3 separate regions of the Homo sapiens genome follow, and all the other regions are linked to region 2. Evidence: promoter capture Hi-C in 16 types of primary human blood cells and fetal thymus (Javierre and others, 2016). All regions are on one chromosome and are shown on one strand. Each heading gives the region's core, a stretch centred on a gene start or on the middle of the fragment in contact. The rest is flanking DNA. Distances are from core to core; before and after follow the strand shown. Region 1 holds the start of AKT2 (AKT serine/threonine kinase 2). Region 2 holds the start of FBL (fibrillarin). Region 3 holds the start of MAP3K10 (mitogen-activated protein kinase kinase kinase 10).

What was found. The method cuts DNA at HindIII sites, captures the fragments that hold promoters and counts their contacts. A CHiCAGO score of 5 or more calls a contact.
Region 1: a contact is called between the fragment with the promoter of AKT2 here and the fragment with the promoter of FBL in region 2, in 17 of 17 cell types (neutrophils, monocytes, total B cells and 14 more). The highest score is 18.9, in neutrophils.
Region 3: a contact is called between a fragment that was not itself captured here and the fragment with the promoter of FBL in region 2, in 6 of 17 cell types (fetal thymus, neutrophils, total B cells and 3 more). The highest score is 8.3, in fetal thymus.

The regions. Positions count from the first base shown.
Region 1 is chr19:40,282,612-40,287,365 of GRCh38, forward strand. It overlaps AKT2 (AKT serine/threonine kinase 2), which reads right to left and starts at 2,734. Exons shown (of 14, transcript NM_001626.6): 1 at 2,570-2,734. MIR641 (microRNA 641) reads right to left here and starts at 30; the gene lies at 1-30. RefSeq lists enhancers at 1,759-1,898, 3,055-3,886 and a silencer at 2,269-2,768. The HindIII fragment of the contact is 30,037 bases long and covers 1-4,754 here.
Region 2 is chr19:39,843,791-39,848,164 of GRCh38, forward strand. FBL (fibrillarin) reads right to left here and starts at 2,589. Exons shown (of 9, transcript NM_001436.4): 1 at 2,501-2,589. The coding sequence starts at 2,510. RefSeq lists an enhancer at 1,394-2,134. The HindIII fragment of the contact is 4,240 bases long and covers 924-4,374 here.
Region 3 is chr19:40,186,818-40,191,464 of GRCh38, forward strand. It overlaps MAP3K10 (mitogen-activated protein kinase kinase kinase 10), which reads left to right and starts at 4,609. Exons shown (of 10, transcript NM_002446.4): 1 at 4,609-4,647. RefSeq lists an enhancer at 3,837-4,076 and a silencer at 4,237-4,647. The HindIII fragment of the contact is 1,448 bases long and covers 1,856-3,303 here.

The sequences.
Region 1 (4,754 bases), core at 1,484-3,983, 440 kb after region 2:
CTATCCTATGTCTTTCCTTCCTTTCACCCAGCCTGGAACCTGGTGAGCAAGGAATGCATGGCACTAGGGGCTCAGTGACCTGGGTTCAAATCCTACCCTGGCACCCATAGGGTCTGATAAGATGCGGTGGAAGGCAATTCTTCCTCTGAACTTCAATTTCGGACTCTGCAAAAAAGGACACAAATACCATATAAAGCCCAAAGCACAGGGCTGGGCAGAGTATATGCTCACAGACAAAAGCCACTCCTCCAGTTTCTCCTTGACAAGACGATCTGAGGCCAAGGTTGGCCAAGGGCTCACATCACACCTCTCCCACTTCAGCTATGAGACCTCTGGGAAATCTTTGCACTTCACAGTGAGTGAAATGATTCCTCATCTGTAAAATGGTATCACACTTCTAACTAGCTCGTAGCTCTCCATAAAATAGGCCTAACCACAGGTATGTTTTGAGACTTAAGTGAGATCACATGTACAAAAGCCCTGTCACACGCCTGGCATGGGGTGAATGCTATAAACACTGGGCATCCACTAGCTCTGGAAATGATCTGCCTCTCTGAGATGCTGTTTTCTCATCTAAAAGGGAGAGCATAACAACAGCGCCTACCGCTCTAGAATTCAAGTATTCAGCAAGTTTATCTATATGAAGCATTCCAAACAGTGTGTGGCCCACAGAATGCACTCAGTTACTGTCAGCCATCAATTTCATGATTACTGTTTTCACTGCCACTGTTAGCCCCATCAGGCAAACCCTCTAAAAGCTGGCAGGAGAGGACCAGAGGAACAAACCCCTAGTGGAGAAAGATTCTACAGAGTCGCCGCTGCCTCACAGACTGTGGGACCTTTCTCTCCAGGAACCACGAGCCACGGAAGCCAGTCAGCTTGGAAGTCACTGCTGCGGACTAGGGGCAACCATCTGCCCCCTCTGACCACATCACCAGCCCAGGTCTGCTGGGTCAATCAGGGACTGCAGCCAGTCCTCTGGGAACTCCAGACCCAGAGCAAAGGCTACAGGGCAAGCCAAGGTCATGATCTGGCCTAGGGAGCAGGGACACTGGCCACAGACCTCTGGGGCTGGCTGCTCCCAGCACCAGCCCACAGACCACAATAAGACACCAGATCCATGGGGGATCTGACTGTCCCAAGCCCTTCAGAGCAGCCTTCCTCCCTGGGCCAGGCTGGGCCAGGGGCACCCCCACTCCAAGTCCCCTTGGCCTATGCAAAGAGGAACAGCTGGGAAAACAGCTCCCGGCCTCACTGCAAGGCCAACTGTTACTGCCTTGGTGGGGAGTGTAAACATGATGTGTGACCGAGCTGGTAACTGGGAGACACAAACAGCTTCGTGGCCAGCGACAGAGGAGCATGTAGTGGTCTGCGTTGGTTCCTGGACCCTTCACATCCACTGCCAACCAAGTTCAGCCCACGAGTGAACTCCTGCTGCTTCTCTGGGAAGGTAGGAGTGGATGAAGTTGAAAAGCAGCCCATTGGAGGCTCTAGTTACTCCAGCCCAGGCGTCTTGCTGAGCCCCAAGAGGTCTCCAAATGAGAGGAAGAGGTCCTCACAATCCCAAGATCAAGATGCCCCCAGAGAGCTTCCCTGGGGGGAAGAGGTGTTCCCCCAAACACTCCTTCCTCCCAAGTTTTAACAAGCGGGTGCAGGGGCACGGCTCCTCAAATCCAAGCCCAATCCCTCTTCCTCTTCAGAATGTTAAGGCTCAGACAACTTCAGTGACTTCTAACACAGCTTTCCTCCCTCCCCTATGGAAGGAAAGAACTGTTACTGCCTGGTAAATAATCTGAGAGGGTAATGGAATCCAGAGCAGCACCTCCATGGTCCAAAGCACCCCAGTAACCATGACGTTCCCTCCAGAGTCGTTAAGAAGTTCAATAAAGGCTGAGATCAGTGTAAACCCCCAACGCCACACACGTCAAATACAGGAAACAGAAACCCCTCCTCACCAATCGGCATCACAGTCCTCCCAAAATACGCCCCTAAAACCCACTAGGGCCTGTCCCGCCCCGTCCCAGTCCCTTAAAGATCACAAACATCACAGTCCTCTGATTTGGGTTCCCCTACGTTCTAAGCAGGGCTCCCCCAACGCCGTGGTGATATAACCCAGCCACAGTTGGGGAAGCATCCTCCCCAGAAGCCCCCACCCCTGTAAATACAGCACAGCAACGGCTTCCACAGCGCCAAAAAGGTACAGCCCTCTACACTTGATGCGGCGCGCCCCCTCGATAGCTTAGCCCGCGCACGCCAGGCTCGATCTGCCCGCCGCGCCCGAAAGGTCCAGCCCCCGGCCCGCGCACGCTGCGGCCTGCGCTCCCCGTCCCGCAAACTTGCAGCGCTCCCCCCACCGCCTCAGTGGTATGGCCCGCCGCCACCGCCCCGGCCCCCCGAGGCTGGTCCCACCGCCCCCGCTCGGCCACCCCCACTCAGCTCCTGAAGGAGGGGCTCGAGGGCCGCGGTCCCCCCGCCGGGCACGGGTGGTACAGCCCATCGCGGCACCGCGGGGGGCCCGGACGCGACCATCGTGGGGGGGGCGTTCGGGGACACGCGCTGGCGCACTCACCTGTCACCGGCAGCCGCCCAGCCTCTCCGGCGGGGCTCTACCCCCGCCCATCGCCACGCTGCGCTGGTTCCCTTTCCTTGTGTTTCCCGGCAGCGGCAACGGCGCCGGCAGCGGCAGCGGCGGCGGCGACGCCTCCTCCGAGGCAGGCCCAACGGCTAGCACGGCGCGGCCCCCCCCGCCCCCTCCCCCCAGCCCCCGCTTACCGCCCCCTCCCACCCTCTGGACGGAAATACCGCCCTCTCGCGCCACAAACAGGAAGTGACGTACAAAGAGCCAGAGACGAACTCTGAGAGAGCGAGAGCGCAAGAGCAGGGCAGAGAAGGAGGCGGGCTCACAGCAGGGCGCCTGCGCACATTAGACAACTTTGGGCCTGTGTGGGTTAGAGATGGGCCTCGCTAGGCCGTGGGGCGGAAAGGCGAGATGGGGCTACGCAGGCGCACTAGGACTCCGACGTCTGCTTTCCCTAGGGCCTAGCCGTAGTGATTATTTCCCGGCAGCCCCTAGTCCGTATTTACATACGCTTTGATCTTGTTTTACTCAGTTCTGGGTTCTGACGCTCTTAAAGGACCCCGGAGCGGGAGTTAGTTAGGAGGGGTTTCCTTTTCAGTGTGCTCGTCATGGTTGAGCTCAGGCTCTGAAGCCACACAACCCCAGACTTGAATTTCCTCCTTTCTGGTGACTGTGGGCAGAAGGCTTGACCGTTTTCTGTGCCTCAGTATCCACATCTGCTAAATGGAAACAATCATCGCTGTGTCGCTGGCTTTTGAACCATTTTAATGTAAACAAAACGGTTTTTACCAATTAGTTCATTACTGCAAGATATTAATGCCACCTGCTCTCATCGTACATATTCCAGTGAATCTGGGATATAACATTTTATAATGCAACTTGGGCCCATAAAGGCCTTAAAATCACCCTGCGGCCGGGCGCGGTGGCTCACTCCTGTAATCCTAGCACTTGGGGAGGCCAAGGCAGACGGATCATGAGGTCAGGAGTTCGAGACAGCCTGGCCAACATAGTGAAACCCCGTCTCTACTCAAAATACAAAAAAAAAAAAAAAAGCCGGGCATGTCGGTGTGTGCCTGTAATCCCAACTACTTGGGAGGCTTGAGGCAGGAGAATCGCGTGAACCCGGGAGGCAGAGGTTTCAGTGAGCCGAGATCATGCCATTGCACTCCGGCCCGGGCGACAGTGCAAGTCTCCGTCTCAAAAAAAAAAAAAAAAAAGAAAAGAAAGAAAAAAGAAAAAAAATGACCCTGCAAGAAAAGAGCTTTGCACAGATCCTAATCCGTATATTAGCTAGTATACTGGACAGCTGTGAGACATCTGGCTCCCAGCCCCTCCTCTCTCATAGGGGATTGTGCTGCCTCCTGAATTTGGGTTCCAGTATGCCATATAACTTGGCAATTGTATGCATTGGTAAGTGAGAAAAATGCCTGACTGAGAGTTGAATCCTGGGTCCACCTCAGTCTGTGAGAGTGTTTCAGGCAAATCCTGCTGAGGGTTCGGCTTTCGTTTTCTGAGACGTAAACCTAATGCTGGAACTAGCCCTTTCTTATTTGGTTTCTAGCTTGGAACTTGCTGCTTGGTATTCCTAATTCCCGGTCTTCCCCATCAGTCGGTGTTAATAACTCTGACCAATGCCTCCCCCTTCACAGCCCTAACCATTTTCATCTATTACTGTCTGGTGACAGGTCTGTTTCCCCCACTGCACAGGAAACACAGTAAAGGAAGAGACCAAGACTGTCTCAGAGATCAGTGTGTATCCAACATTGCCCAGAGTGGGCTCTTGCAGAATGTTTGTTTCAAGCATTAGCCCTTCTGCCCTAATCTAGACTCAAGGTTACTGTGACCAACCCTCTTCACTCCTGTCCACACTGAACAGCTCACAGGCCATTCCCCTACGTCTAAGTCTCCCCTGGGCCAACTTGAATCCTAGCCCCTCCTAGGGCACTTAATTATGACACACTGAGATCTCACTGAAACCACCCATGTGCTTGTGTATAAACTCCTTGCAGCACTGGTAGTCAAGGGCAGTGGCTTTCTCTTTTTTTTTTTTTTTTTTTTTGAGACTCACTGCATCGCCAGGCTGGAGTGCAGTGGCGAGATCTTGGCTCACTGCAACCTCTGCCCTCTGCCTCCCAGGTTCAAGCGATTCTCCTGCCTCGGCCTCCTGAGTAGCTGG
Region 2 (4,374 bases), core at 1,339-3,838:
GCAGTGCTCATCCTATAGGGTTGTAAAGATTAAATGACTTGTACCCACAGAGCACATCACATATATACTATCTGGCACCTACTTTGAACATCATCATTCAAACTCAGGGGTACGCGTCTCCTCTTCCCTCCTCATGTACCAAAAGTACCCATTCCTCAGAAAAAACACATGTTCACACAAACTTTTCCAGTTAGTTCTTTTTTCATCTTTCTATTAAAGATGAAAATGTAACTTTTAATAGCTACTCCTAATTTGATCTTTTAAAATGAAGTTTCCTTTTCAAAACTCTAGAACATAACTAAGAGTTGTTCACTTTTTAATGTTCTACTCCCCCTACAGTCCACTTTCCACACAGCAACTAATAAGTGCTGTTTTTGAAACAGCAACTCAGATCTCAATTTTCTTGCCCAAGCCCTCCAACAGTTTTCCAAAGCCAAGACCTTCATTTAGGGGAGATGCCACAGCTAGGCTTATGAAAGTCTCAACCCAGGCCTAACAGAAAGGAAGTACTGGCATGTGCTTGGGGCGGAGTGGGCATGAGTGTAAACTTTCAATCCCAGATACTCAAAACATCTCAATCCGTTTCAGGTCCTGGAGCTTTTGGGGGAAAATGTACCAAAAGTACCCAGTCCTCAGAAAAAACACATGTTCACACAAACTTTTCCAGTAAGTTCTTTTTTTGGGGGGAGGGGGGTCCATAAACCCCCTGATTTAAAATCTGCTCTCCTTCCACAGCCTTCTCCATCTCAAAAATGGCAATTCCATCCTTCCAGTTACACACCCCCAAACCCTTGGTTATCCTTGACTCCGATCACACACCCACATACAATCTGTTGGTTCTGTCTTCAAAAGCATGTAAAACTGTCAGCATGTCCACTGCTCCCATCCTGGTCCACCACACCATCTCCTAGATTACAGCAACAAGCTTCCCACCAATGTGCCTGCTTCCACTTTTGCCACCCTGAGGTCTTTCACACATCGAAGCAAAAAGAATCCCTTTTAAAAATGTCAGACTGCACCACGCCCCTGCTCAAAAATCTCCCAAAGGGTTCTTTTCTCACTCAGGCTAAAATCCTTACTAAAGAGCTAACACCTGACAACTTTTACAACTTCACATTCTACCACACATGGAGGAAGGTTGGAAGAACGGGTATCCTCCATTTATGAGGGAATCACAGACCAGAATGCCTGCAGGCAAGCCAGGATCTCAGCATACCTGGCCTACAATCCCCCACCCCACTTCATCAAGAGATCCCCAAACACGGAAGAGAAAGGGAACTTGGGAGAAGGGCACAGATCCACAAATCTCCTGCCAGGTGACCCCCATCTCTCCACACAAACACACACACAAAAGAAAAAGAAAGCCTGTACTAGGAAAACAGACCCTTTGGGCCATGGTGGAAATTCTCCAAACTCAATGAAGCAAGTTCTCACACAGATGAGTGCGGGTTGGGCAGGCCAGATGGAGGAAGTGCTCAGGCACCACCGAGAAGGATTCTAATGTTGTTCTCTTTGAGAAAGATAAAGGTAACAATTAGAGCTAATACTATTATATGTCAAGCACTGTGCTATTTTTTTTAACGTCGCTTAATCCTAACTGGCGCCATTTTATTGATGAGAAAACAGAGGCTCAGAGAGGTAAAGCCACTTGCCCAAGTTCACACAGCAGGCTAAGAAGCTGAGCAAGAGCTGACACACTGAACTGAGGCCCTTCTGCTGTCAAAGCCAGGACCCCCTCATCATTCCACCATGAAGGGAGTGGTTTCAGCAGAATCTAGTGGAAAATCTTAAGAATAAAACTACTTACCTCCTGTGACAACCACCCGCCCCACCACCCCAGACTAATGCCGAGCTTGTTAAGTCTCGTCCCGGAGGTGGAAATCTTAATCCCCAAATCTCCACTCCATCCCCGGGGATCCGCCCCACTGTAAGTGCAGAAGGCGGGAAAGTGAGCCGAAGAGCGCCGCACACGGCCAACCGGGGAGTCCTCATCCACTCCGGCCCACTCGGAAAAGCTGGGATGCGGGATAAGGGGATGGTGGTGGTGGCAGCGACAGGGAAGGCAAATGGGGGCTTCCCACACACAGCTCCAGGACCCAAGGTCAGGAACTCTCCATCTCCGACCCAAGCCTGATTCCCAAAACACGCCCAGCGATCCAAGACTCCAGATGCCTGAATCCAAACTCTAGCCCAAGACCCTTGAGTGCCGCCTCCTGCCCAATATCCAAAATCCCTATTAGACGGCCTCAATGAGACGAACCCCACGTCAACACCCCCAATGCCAGGCCCACGGCCTTCTTCGACTCACGACCGTGACCTCTGAAGCCAGTCACAAACCCCTAGACCTGCTGGAATCAGAATCCCCCTTCCCACAGGAGACTGGAACCCGTGCTCAGAACCCCTGCCCCCAGGCCAAGGCCCCACCCCTCCGATTCTGGCCTGGCACCCGGATTCCCGCCCGGCCTCCGTCCCTGACCCCGGACCCTCACCCCAGCCTGACCTGGCTTCATGGCGAGCCCTGGTTTGTGCGGCTCCGGAGTCCGCGGCGTTCACAACTCCACGAGTCCGGGGCTTTCGCACGTGGAAAAGAGCGCAGGCGCGCGGCGACGTGCGCTGCGTGACGCCACCCCGTAGTCCCGCCCCCGGGCCCCTTCCCCGCCCGGAGCTCGGCGCACGCGCAGTGAGCCTGGATTCTCGAGCCTGTCGACACGCAACCCGCTGCCCTCGCTCTCTGCCTTCCCAGCCTTTGCCTGTGCAGCGGTCGCCCTAAACTCGCTTCCGGTTTCCTCTTCCCCAATGCGAGCACCCCAATAATCAGGGCTCATAGCCTTCGCACGGGCTGTGCCCTCTTTTGTATTCCTAGCTAAATCCCTCTGGCCCCTGTACACCCAAAAAGGCTTCCCCAATACATTTCCAGCCCCAAGAACAGTGACCGACTCTGGGCTTCCATTCAAACATCCGAAAAACATTTACAGTGCACCTCGTGTGTACCAGGTGCTGTTCTAGGAGCTGGGAATACAGCGGTGTACGAGACATAAAAATCTCCACTCTCCTGGAGTTCATCTTTTTAATGGAGGAAATAGACACCAAACATGTTGAATGTTTGAAAGCGATAAGTGCTTTGGAGAAAATAACAGCAGGGAAAGGGGATAGAGATTTTGGAGGGCAAATGATTTTTGTTTTTTTGGCACGGTGGTCAAGGAATGCATCAGGAGACTTTTGAGCTAAAGGGCTGAAGGAAGTGAGGAGTGAGGCATGCACCTATCTAGGGGAAGAGAGTTCCAGGCAGGGAAAAGATCTGCAGATGCAGAGGCCCTGAGGAAGGAAAGATATGGGAAGTTGGAGAGACAATGAGGAGGGTGGGTGGGGCAAAGTGAGCAAGGTGGAGAGTAAGAGGAGATAAGGGCGGGTAGCTAACAAGGGCAGATTGTGCGGAGCTTTGTGGGACATAGTGAGGACTTAGGCAGTAAGATGGAACCATGGAAGGGTTCCAAGCAGAGAAGGAATGTGATCTGACACAGGTCCCTCTGGCTGCATGTGGGAAGCAGACTGCAGGAGTGAGGGTGAAAGCAGGAAAACCAAGGACTGGCTGCTGCCGTGAATCAGAAGAAAAGGATGGACAGATCAGAGTGGGGGCAGAGAGCGGCGTCAGGGGTCAACAGATTCTGCTTAAGTATTAAGAATTTTGGGCTTTGTAATTGTGTAATATCAGTATCCATCCCTATATTCATTCTGCAAAGCAAGACAACTGCTGTTATGAGAAGTTACCGAAAAACTCCAGAAGAACCTACCAGTCCAGAGCCTAGATGTTGACTCTGTTCCATTCACTGCTCTATCACTCTAGGCCTAGGACAGCCCTCTGGGTGCCCAGTAAATGTTTGTTGAATGAATGGATGGCCTCATACCGTTGTGAGTTCTCTGTGTACAGTGTTCCAGCTGTGGAATGCCACCAATTTGCACAGAAACATTCCTGAAAGATTGTTTAGATATTATGATGGAAAATCTGCTTAAACTTTTCAGAACCGGTCGGGGCAGTGGCTCACACCTGTAATCCAGGCACTTTGGGAGGCCGAGGCAGGAGGATCGCTTGAGCCCAGGAGCTTAAGGCCAGCCTGGGCTACAGAGTGAGACCTTATCTTTACAAAAAATAAAAAATTAGCTGGGTATGGTTGCTTGCACCTGTAGTCCCAGCTACTCAAGAGGCTGAGGCAGGAGGATCCTTTGAGCCCAGTAGGTCTAGGCTGAAATGAGCCATGACTGCACCACTACACTCCAGCCTGGGTCACAGAGCGACACCCCTGTCCCAAAACAAAAACAAAAACCAAACAAAAAAAACTTTTTAAAAACTATGAGATGAAATAGTTGAGTCTATTC
Region 3 (4,647 bases), core at 1,330-3,829, 340 kb after region 2:
AAATAAAAAGTTGACTTGATATTAGTCAAGGGATACAAAATATCAGTTATGCAAGATGAATAAGTTCTAGAGATCTAATGTACAATGACACGACTATCGTTAATAAGATTTTATTGTATACTTGAAATTTGTTATAAGGGTAGGTCTTAAGTGTTCTCACCACAAAAAAAAAAAAAAGCTCCCCAACTCATTGAATAGGGCTAGCATTCCGCCAATGTCAAAACTAGGCAAGAATAACACCAGAAAATTCCATTTATGAAAACAAATGCAGGCCAGGCACAGTGGCTCATGCCTGTAATCCCAGCACCTTGGGAGGCCAAGGCAGGTGGATTCCTTGAGGCCAGGATTTGGAGACCACTCCGGCCAACATGGCAAAACCCCATGTCTACTAAAAATGTAACAATTAGCTGGGCACAGTGGCATGCGCCTATAGTCTCAGCTCTGGAGGCTGAGGTGGGAGAATCGCTTGAACCCAGGAGGTGGGTGAGCTGAGATATCACCACTGCACTATAGCCTGGATGACACAGCAAGGCTGTCTCAAAAAAAAAAAAAAAAGAAAAGAAAAGAAAAGAAATGCAAAACAACCCTAAATAAAGTATTATTAAATCAAATCCAGCAATGGTGAAAGCAAGAAAGAGGAGATAATCAACATTAATGGATTAAAGGCAGAAAAACCATCTGATTGCATAAATAAATGCATAAAAAGCATTTGATAAAATGTAACACCTGCATTTAAAAAAGAAAGAAAGAAAGAAAGAAAGAAAAATCTCTAGCAAGTTAGGAATAGAACCTGATAAAGGACTTCTACTAGAAATCTACTGAAAGCATCATATTTAATGATGAAACCTTAGGATCATTCCCTTAAATGTCTAGGACAAGACAAGAATTGTCCATTAATACCACTGCCATTCAACATTGTATTGGAACTCCTAGCCAAAGAGGAGAGGATTAAGAAAAAAAGCATAGACATCAGATTTTTTAAAGCTGTAATTTTTTTCTTTTTTCTGGACAACAGGATCATCTAGCTAGAAAATCGAAGAGAATTATCTGTCAAGCTATTCTAGAACAAGCAAGAGTGAGTTCAACAAGGCAGCCAAATCCAAGATAATTTTTTTTCTTTTTTTTTTTGAGATGGAGTCTCACTCTGTCACCAGGCTGGAGTGCAGTGGCGCAATCTCGGCTCACTGCAACCTCTGCCACCCGGTTCAAGCGATTCCCCTGCCTCAGCCTCCCGAGCAGCTGGGATTACAGGTGACTGCCACCATGCCCTGACTAAATTTGTATTTTTAGTAGAGACAGGGTTTCACCATGTTGGCCAGGCTGGTCTTGAACTCCTGACCTTGTGATCCACCCGCCTTGGCCTCCCAAAGTGCTGGGATTACAGGCGTGAGCCACCGCACCGGGCCCAGAGACAACCTGTTCTGCAGCCCATTTGCTTCTTCCAGAGTCTCCCTCTGTCGTCCGGGCTAGAGTACACTGGCTCGATCTCGGCTCACTGCAACCTCCGCCTCCCAGGTTCAAGCGATTCTCCTGCCTCAGCCTCCTGAGTAGCTGAGATTACAGGCACCTGCCACCACGCCTGGCTAATTTTTGTATTTTTAGTAGAGATGAGGTTTCACCATGTTGTCCAGGCTGGTCTCAAACTCCTGACCTCAGGTGATTTGCCTGCCTCAGCCTCCCAAAGTGCTGCGATTACAGGTGTGTGAGCCACCGCCCCCACCCTCTATTTGCTTCTTTGAGATGAATCACCCCATAAATGATTGGTAAACAGAGTAATGATGTCAGCATAACACAAGCATGTTGGTTAACATGCAATTTTCTCCAGGAAGTTAACATTTTGAAGCAATCAGGGCCAAGCTTTCTCACAGTTAAAGGGGAAGCCTTAGTACTAAAAGAAGATCTTCAGAGGAAAAAGCTGCAAATCTACAGAAGTGTCTTCCTTTGGATCCACGGTGGCTGGTTTAGTGACTTCAAAGACCACCATATTTGTCACAGTGTTATGCCTATGGCAAATCCATGAATGCAGATGAAGAAATTGCAAATATATTTCTCCCATATTAAAATAACAGATTAATGAAAAAGATCACACCTTGGATCACATTTCGAGTTTTGATGAAAATGATCCCCATCAATAGTTAATATCTCCAACCAGCATCCCCAAAGAGGAAGCATAAGCCCCACCTTCAAGGCTGCAAAGTGCTGCTGAAAGCAAATGCTCATGGAAATTTACCTATTCTAGTGTTTCTATTAGCATCATTATTGGTTTTGTAGCACTCTGAATATAAAGTTGTATACAAGAGGCCGGGCATGGTGCCTCACACCTGTAATCCCAGCACTTTGAGAGGCCAAGGCGGGCGGATCACGAGGTCAGGAGATCGAGACTATCCTGGCCAACATGGTGAAACCCTGTCTCTACTAAAAATACAAAAATTAGCTGGGCATGGTGGCGCCCACCTGTAATTCCAACTACTCGGAAGGCTGAAGCAGGAGAATCACTTGAACCAGGGAGTCGGAGGTTGTGGTATGCCAAGACCGTGCCACTGCACTCCAGCCTGGCAACAGAGTGAGACTCCATCTCAAAAAAAAAAAAAGTTGTATACAGGTTTTTATTTTTACTTTTTTTTTTTTGAGTCAGGGTCTCGCTCTGTCTCTCAGGCTGGAGTGCAGTCAGTGCCACAATCACAGCTCACAGTAGCCTCGACCTCCTGGGCTCAGGTAATACCCCTATACCTCAGTCTCCCGAGTAGCTGGGAACACAGGTGCACACCACCACACCCGCCTAATTTTTTATTTTTTTGTAGAGACGGAGTCTCCCTATGTTGCCCAGGCTAGTCTGAAACTCCTGGACTCCAGTAATTCTCCCTCCTCGGCCTCTGAAAGTGCTGGGATTACAGGCATGAGCCACCGTGCCCAGCTAGTTGCATATATTTTGAGCAATCTGTCTCTAACTCTATTTTTTCCATGAAGTCTTGTTAATTTTAGTGCACCGTTTTGAAGAACTGAAGGTTTTTTAAGAATGCATATAGCAGGTTATAGCAGAAACACTTATACTCAGAATGAAGCTGGGGCTCTCTCTTCCAACAAGCATTTTTGATATGCTCCGAGTGTCCCTGCTAGGTAGCCAGGAGACCAGGTAACCCACTTCCCTCTGACAATGGAACAATTCCCCAAGGACCCTGAGGGGCAGTTCTCTGGAGTTTGGGCACTAGAGTCCCTCTTATTTCCTCTTCTTCTCTCCTCCCTCTAGACCCCATACCACTCAGGAGAGGCCAAGTAAAAAGACCCAGAATTTTGCCTCTTACAAGCTTAGAGATCTTGAAGAAGTCACTGAACCTCTGCGGGACCTACTTTCCTCATTCTTTAAATAGAAAGGCAGTGGGTTTTTTGTTTGTTTGTTTTTTGTTGTTTTTTTTTTTGTTGTTGTTGTTTTTGTTAATCGTGGCGATGGTTATTTATTTATTTATTTATTTTGAGACGGAGTCTTGCCCTGTCGTCCAGGCTGGAGTGCTGTGGCGTGATCTTGGCTCACTGCAACCTCCACCTCCCAGGTTCAAGCGATTCTCCTGCCTCAGCCTCCCGAGTAGCTGGGATAGATTACAGGCGCACACCACCACGCCCGGCTAATTTTTTTTTTTTTTTTTAAATAGTAGAGACGGGGGTTTCACCATGCTGGCCAGGCTGGTCACGAACTCCTGGCCTCGTGATCCGCCCGCCTTGGCCTCCCATAGCGCTGAGATTACAGGCGTGAGCCACCGCGCCCGGCCTGGTTGTTAATTTTTAAAACTGCCTTTCATTTTTGCTTTGCCATTTATAGCTCTGTAGCCTTGCACAAATGACTTCACTTCTCTATGAGTCATCTGTAAAATGGGGCTCTTTGTGAAGACTTAACGATACCACGTGTACAAAGCACTGAATACAACATGCACATTAAGCTCCCCGAAATTGAAACTCCTATAAAATAGGAATCGGGGATTCTCAAGAGCAGGAGTTCTGACTTCAGCAGAGGAACCCAGAGCTGGTGGGGAAAGCAGACGTGGCTGTGACATCCCCAGGGACACTAAACACATCCTCCCAGCCCCATCTTCCCCGCAGAGTCCCGCCACCGGCCCGACCCCTAACTTGCTCCAACCACCCGCCGACGCCCGCAGCCCGCTGTTTGGGGGCCGCCCCCTGCAGCGCCAGGTCCCCGCGCGGACTACAGTTCCCAGCGTACATCTCGGTCGGGGGGTCCGAGGGGCCGTCCTGCCTCAGGGATAAGGTCCAGGCTGCGTTCGCGGCTCCGGGCAGTCACAGTCATGCACGCAGCTCCTATTTTTCGCGTTGCTAATCGCGTCCGTTGCAGTCCAACCCATCCTGGGCCGCGGCCCCCACAGGGTCTGTGAGGAGCGCTTCCCCCCGCCCCGGGCGCCCGCTACGCCGCGTCCGAAGGAGGGGCCGAGGCCGGGCTCATCTCCCCGGGAGGACTCCTTCGGCTTCGTGGGGTGTCATGTCCATTGCGGCCCGAGGCTGGCCGCGGGGCTCTGCTGGAGGGCGCTGAGAGCCGGGCCCCGAGGCCGCACGGCCGGAGACTACAACTCCCAGGAGGCACCGCGGCGGCGGCGCCCACACGTCACTCGGGCCCCGCCGGTGGCCCGGGGAAGCAGCACG